Regions from separate parts of the Homo sapiens genome. Here region 1 is linked to region 2. The links are contacts of gene promoters, found by promoter capture Hi-C in human tissues and cell types (Jung and others, 2019). All regions are on one chromosome and are shown on one strand. The core of a region is centred on a gene start or on the middle of the fragment in contact, and the rest is flanking DNA. Distances in the headings are between cores, read along the strand shown. Region 1 overlaps ZBTB7C (zinc finger and BTB domain containing 7C). Region 2 holds the start of IER3IP1 (immediate early response 3 interacting protein 1).

The links. Contacts are between HindIII fragments. The study calls those that stand out against the background at their distance.
Region 1: a fragment that was not itself captured here is called in contact with the fragment with the promoter of IER3IP1 in region 2 in 1 of the 25 tissues and cell types used here (hippocampus).

Annotation. Positions count from the first base shown.
Region 1 is chr18:48,243,456-48,246,998 of GRCh38, reverse strand. All of the region lies in intron 2 of ZBTB7C (zinc finger and BTB domain containing 7C), which reads left to right. Among named protein-coding and RNA genes, the nearest start is that of ZBTB7C-AS2, 7.1 kb to the left of the region's middle. The HindIII fragment of the contact is 4,276 bases long and covers 1-3,543 here.
Region 2 is chr18:47,174,941-47,178,120 of GRCh38, reverse strand. IER3IP1 (immediate early response 3 interacting protein 1) reads left to right here and starts at 1,757. Exons shown (of 3, transcript NM_016097.5): 1 at 1,757-1,934. The coding sequence starts at 1,844. RefSeq lists enhancers at 1,589-1,718, 1,729-1,848. The HindIII fragment of the contact is 11,428 bases long and covers 1-3,180 here.

The DNA.
Region 1 (3,543 bases), core at 229-2,728, 1.1 Mb before region 2:
GGGTAATCCCACTTTGTCATGGTATAATTTTAGTGTATATATCATTGAATACACTGCTATTCTTCTATGACCTATCTGTGCTCATGGTCCGCTCAGTCTAGCCCCCTCTATCCCTGACTTGGTCCTGCCCTGACTGTGGTCCAGAGAGCTGTGGGGCAGAGGCCAGGGTGTGTGTGCATGTGGTGGTTGTTGGGGGCATGGGATGGGGGGTGTCAAAGCACCTGATGATGATTTCGCCAGCATCACAACCTCAAGTACGATATGGTGTCTCATCCTTTTAAGTTTTAGTTTTTAACAGGATATGTTAAAAACTAACATATTTAGTTTAACAGGATATGCCTATAATTTAAAGAATCAGAGAGTTTAATTAAAGTTATTACAGAAAATAGCAGTCCTTTTCCCATCCTACCTCATTTTCCATTTGCGAGAGACAACTACATTTTTTCTTAGAAAAAAAGTGTGTTTTTTTATTTCCATTTTCTTTAAGTAACAGGTGTATACAATTATTTGTCATTTTTCTATTTTAAGCTTTATTATTATTATTATTATTTTATTATTTATTTTTTTTTGAGACAGAGTCTCGCTCTCTTGCCCAGGCTGGAGTGCAGTGGTGTGATCTCAGCTCACTGCAAGCTCCGCCTCCCGGGTCCACGCCATTCTCCTGCCTTAGCCTCCCAAGTAGCTGGGACTACAGGCACCCGCCACCACGCCCGGCTAACGTTTTGTATTTGTGTTAGCCAGGATGATCTCCATCTCCTGACCTTGTGATCCACCCGCCTCAGCCTCCCAAAGTGCTGAGATTACAGGTGTGAGCCACCGCGCCCGGCCTAAGCTTTATTATTAACTGACTTCCTGCTATGGAAGATGACTGTTTAGCTCCCTTTACCCCATATTCACACTAGAAACACACTCCCATATTCCCTCTTTATACCATAATTGTGATTAGATCCAAATTTAGTATTTACAGTATATTATAGTGAAAATGTACTTCAGTTACACCTGAGCTATATGATTCCATTTAGGCACAATTTTTGTTTTCTGGAATTAATAATTGTTTTTGTTTGTATGTCTGATGCTTAGTTTTCTATATATTTATTAATAATTCCATCCCCAACATTCTTTAATTGGATAAATACCTTCCTAATCCTTTCAAATACATCAGGCAATCTGTCAGTTTCATCTCCTTGTTGAAATCTCTCTGGATACTTTGACCATTTTTGTCTGATTGCTTTCTGGAGCACAGCTCTCAACCTGGGCTCAACCGGCTCTAGCATTCTAGGAATTCCCCCATCCTCTCTTCTGTTTGGATGTCCTGTTTCCTGAATCTAAAATTGTTCCTTTCTTGGTTTGCCCCCTTGTTTTGATGGAGCGCATTCTCCAATAACTTTATGAAAAAAAGATGCTTGAGATACTTTCTTCTTCTTTTCCTCTATTCCTTAAAAAATATGTTTTTACTCTTGAGCGTATATACCATAGAAAATTCATTTTTTCTTTTTTTTTTTTTGGTGTCTTGATCTATTTTTTTATTTCAATAGGTTTTTAGGGGAACAAGTGTTGTTTGGTTACATGGATAAGATCTTTAGTGGTGATTTCTGAGATTTTGGTGCACCCATCACCTGAGCAGTGTACACTGTACCCAATGTGTAGTCTTTTATCCCTCACTCCCCTCCCACCCTTCCCAAGTCCCCAGAGTCCATTGTATCATTCTTATGCCTTTGCATCCTCATAGCTTAGCTTCCACTTATAAGTGAGGACATAGAATGTTTTGTTTTCCATTCCTGAGTTACTTCACTTACAATAATGGTCTCCAGCTCCATCCAGGTTGCTGTGAATGCCATTATTGAATTCCTTTTTTTGGCTGAATAGTATTCCATGGTGTGTGTGTGTGTGTGTGTATATATATATACACACACACACACTACTTTTTTTTCCACTTGTTGATTGATGGGCATTTGGGTTGGTTCCGTATTTTTGCAATTGTGAATTGTGCTGCTATAAACATGCATGTAGAAGTGTCTTTTTCATATAATGACTTCTTTTCCTCTGAGTAGATACTCAGTAGCGGGATTGCTGGATCAGATGGTAGATCTACTTTTAGTTTTTTAAGGAATCTCCACACTGTTTTCCATAGTGGTTGTAGTATTAATAGTTTACATTCCCACCAGCAGTGTAAAGATGTTCCTTTTCACCACATCCACATCAACATCTATTATTTTTTGATTTTTTAAATTATGGCCCTTCTTGTAGGAGTAAGGTGGTATTGCATCATAGTTTTGATTTGCATTTCCCTATAATTAGTGATGTTGAGTATTTTTCATGTTTGTTTGCTGTTTGTATATCTTCTTTTGAGAATTATCTATTCATTTCCTTAGCCCACTTTTTGATGGGATTAATTGCTTTTTTCTTGCTGATTTATTTAAATTCCTTGTAGATTCTGGATAGTAGTCCTTTGTTGGATGCATAGTTTGCAAATATTTTCTCCCACTCTGTGGGTTGTCTGTTTACTCTTCTGATTATTTCTTTTGTTGTGCAGATGCTTTTTAGTTTAATTAAGTCCCATCTATATTTATTTATTTATTTATTTGAGATGGAGTCTCACTCTGTCGCCCAGGCTGGAGTGCAGTGGCGCAATCTCTGCTCACTGCAAGCTCCACCTCCTGGGTTCACACCATTCTTCTGCCTCAGCCTCCCGAGTAGCTGGGACTACAGGCACCTGCCACCACACCTGGCTAATTTTTTGTATTTTTAGTAGAGATGGGGTTTCACCATGTTAGCCAGAGTGGTCTCGATCTCCTGACCTCGTGATCCACCCACCTTGGCCTCCTTCTATTTATTCTTGTTTTTGTTGCATTTGTTTTTGGGTTCTTGGTCATGAACTCTGTGCCTAAGCCAATGTCTGGAAGAGTTTTTGTGATGTTATCTTCTAGAATTTTTACAGTTTTGAGTCTTAGATTTAAGTCTTCAATGCATCTTGAGTTGATTTTTGTACAAGCTGAGAGACGAGGATCCAGTTTCATTCTTCTACATGTGGCTTGCCAATTATCTCAGCATCATTTGTTGAATAGGGTGTCCTTTTCCTACTTTATGTTTTTGTTTGCTTTGCCAAAGATCAGTTGCCTGTAAGTATGTGGCTTTATTCCTGGTTTCTCTATTCTGTTCCATTGGTCTAAGTGCCTATTTTTATACCAGTACCATGCTGTTTTGGTGACTATGACCTTATAGTACAGTTTGAAGTTGGGTAATGTGATGCCTCCAGATTTGTTCTTTTTGCTTAGTCTTGCTTTGGCTATGTGAGCTCTTTTTTAGTTCCATATGAATTTTGGATTGTTTTTTCTAGTTCTGTGAAAAATGATGATAGTATTTTGATGGGAGTTTCATTGAATTTGTGGATTGCTTTTGGCAGTCATGGTCATTTTCACAGTATTGATTCTACCCATCCATGAGTATGGGATGTTTTTCCATTTGTTTGTGTTGTCTATGATTTCTTTCAGCAGTGTTTTGTAGTTTTTCTTGTAGAGGTCTTTCATCTCCTTGGTTAGGTAT
Region 2 (3,180 bases), core at 508-3,007:
AGGTTGTGGGTTTACGGGAATGAGGGCAAGGAATACCTGGCCCACCCAGGTTGGAAAACTGCTTAAAGGCATTCTTAAGCCACAAACAAAAGCCTGAGAGATCTGTGTCTTAAGGATGTGTTCCTGCTGCAATTAATTCGGCCCATCCCTTCATTTCCCATAAGGGATACTTTTAGTTAATTTAACATCTATAGAAACAATGCTAATGACTGGTTTGCTGTTAATAAATACGTGGGTAAATCTTTGTTCGGGGATCTCAGCTCTGAAGGCTATAAGACCCCTGATTTCCCACTTCACACCTCTGTGTGTGTCTTTAATTCCTCTAGCACCGCTGGGTTAGGGTCTCCCCAACCGAGCTGGTCTTGGCATACCCTTTTCATTGGTTTTTTGCCTGCTTTATATCCTGGCCACTCCAGCAGCTGATTAGATGGTGCCCACTTGGATTAAGAGTGGACCTGTCTTTCCCAGCCCACTGACTCAAATGTTAATCTCCTTTGGCAACACCCTCACAGACACACCCAGGATCAATACTTTGCATCCTTCAATCCAATCAAGTTGACACTCAGTCTTAACCATCACATACAGCTAAGCAGGAGGCTAAGGCAGGAGGACTGCTCGAGCCAGGAGCTGAAGGCTGCATTGAGCTATGATGGTGCCACTGCACTCCAGCCTGGGCAACAGAGCAAGACCCTGTTCCTGGGGGGGGAAAAAAAAAAAGAAGAGGCTCAGAGGATCTTGGTTGGAGTTTGGTCAAGGAGGGGATGTTTCTCACTGAGTAATTTTAAAACAGTTATTTTGTTTTAGCATTCTGAAATCTGAAATGGGAATATTAGTATCTCCTGTATCTCCTGGGAGCATCAAGTGCAGTACTGAGCAATAGAAATATAATGCAAGCGTCACATGTCATTTACAGTATCTTCATAACCACATTAAATAAAATAATTAAAAATAAACAAGAAACCTTCCTCCCTTCCTTCCTTCTTTCCTCTTGCTCTGTCACCCAGGCTGGATCTCGGCTCACTGCAGTCTCTGCCTCCCGGGTTCAAGTGATTCTCTTCTCTCAGCCTCCTGAGTAGCTGGGATTACAGGAGCCCACCATCACACCCAGCTAATTTTTGTATTTTCAGTAGAGACAGGGTTTTGCCATGTTGGCCAGACTGGTCTCGAACTCTTGACCTTAGGTGATTTGCCCGCCTCGGTTTCCCAAAGTGCTAGAATTACAGGCGTGAGCCACTGCGCCCGGCCTCAAAATATTTTCATTTCAACATGTTATCAACATTTAAAAATTATTGGGAGGCCGAGGAGGGGGGAATCACGAGGTCAGGAGATTGAGACCATCCTGGCTAACACGGTGAAACCCCGTCTCTACTAAAAATACAAAAAATTAGCCGGGCGTGGTGGCGGGCACCTGTAGTCCCAGCTACTTGGGAGGCTGAGGCAGGAGAATGGCGTGAACCCGGGAGTCGGAGCTTGCAGTGAGCCGAGATCGTGCCACTGCACTCCAGTTTGGGCGACAGGGCCAGACTCCATCTCAAAAAAAAAAAAATTATTGGGATATTCTTCATCCTTGTTCCAGTTCCAAGTGTGTGAAATCCGGTGTGTATTTTGCACCTGCAGCACTGGCCACATCAGAGCATTGATTGCACATCACCGGTCTAGACAAGCGGCAGGACTTGCAGTCTTCAGCGAGGGGCGGTTCTTAGCCAGATGGAGGCGGGGCTTCCCGGAGAGTTCGTTTTGGGCCCCATCGGCTTCCGTAGGAAGGCGCCGGCCGTGGAGGCGCCACGTCCCTTGCGGCGGCGGGAGAGAAATCGCTTGGACTTCGGGGCGGCCTCGGACGGCCATGGCCTTTACCCTGTACTCACTGCTGCAGGCAGCCCTGCTCTGCGTCAACGCCATCGCAGTGCTGCACGAGGAGCGATTCCTCAAGAACAGTGAGTGGGACCGCGGGGCGCGGGCTGGGGCGGCGGCGGAGTCCCCGGGGGCGCGTAACCTAATGGGGCCGCGTGAGGGGACACCAAGGGCCGGGACAGAAGAACAGCGGAAGGCTCGGCTTGGAGTGGAAGCCGAGCCTTTCCTCTCATCAGGTTTGGGCTCAACAGCCGGGAGAATATTCAACAGACACCCGCTGTGCAGGGCCCAGGGGGTTGGGGTGGAGGGATATAGAAGTCAGTCAGGGACGCCTCTGCTTGCGATTACTTCAGGTCAGTAATTTAATTCAGTTTTCTGTGACTACTTTTTTTTTTGAGGGGGAGTCTCGCTCTTTTGCCCAGGCTGAAGTGCAGTGTCGCGGTCCTGTGACTACTTTTAATAGTCGAAAACCCGGGGTCTGAGTTTCGGGCTAAGAGTTGGGGGTGTGGGGCCGGGCGCGGTGGCTCCCGCCTGTAATCCCAGCACTTTGGCAGGCCGAGGCCGGCGGATCATGATGTCAGGAGTTTGGGACCAGCCTGGCCAACATGGTAAAACCCCGTCTCTACTAAAAATACAAAGATTAGCCGGACGTGGTGGTGGAAATACAAAAATTAGCCGGGCGGGAGGCTGAGGCAGGAGAATCACTTAAACCTGGGAGGCAGAGGTTGCAGTGAGCCGAGATTGCGCCATTGCACTCCAGCCTGGGCAATAGAGTGAGACTCCGTCTAACAAAACAAAACAAACAAAACAAAACGAGTTGGGTGTGGAGGGGAAGGAGGCGTGACCCATTTTGGAGCATCAGTAGTTCACTAACTGATGGAAGGCAATAAGTGTTCCTGGGCTTTAGGAATTACAGGAAGGGAACGTGTTGGAGTTATCAGGACATTCAGACACTCATGTTCCAAGAAAAGTTTATTCAGATAGCTTATTGGGTGCATAGAGTGTGCCAAAAACTCTGCTAGAATTTAGAAATTCAAAAATGAAAACACAAGTTATACCTTCCAGGACCTCACGTTGTGTACCAAGTATGCCCGTTTGAATCACTGAAACGTAAACCCAGGAGCAAGATTGATTCATTTCATTTACTTCAGAAGATATTTATTGAGTGCAAAGTATGTGCCAGGCCCATTTATAGTAACTGAAGTTACAGCAGCTACTCTGCCCTTCTGATGGAAGTTAATCTAAATAAAAACTAAACAAATGACAATAACAAGTATAGAGAGTATTATGTAAGAGAAGTACGGGCAGATACTAACTTGTGTATCTGCG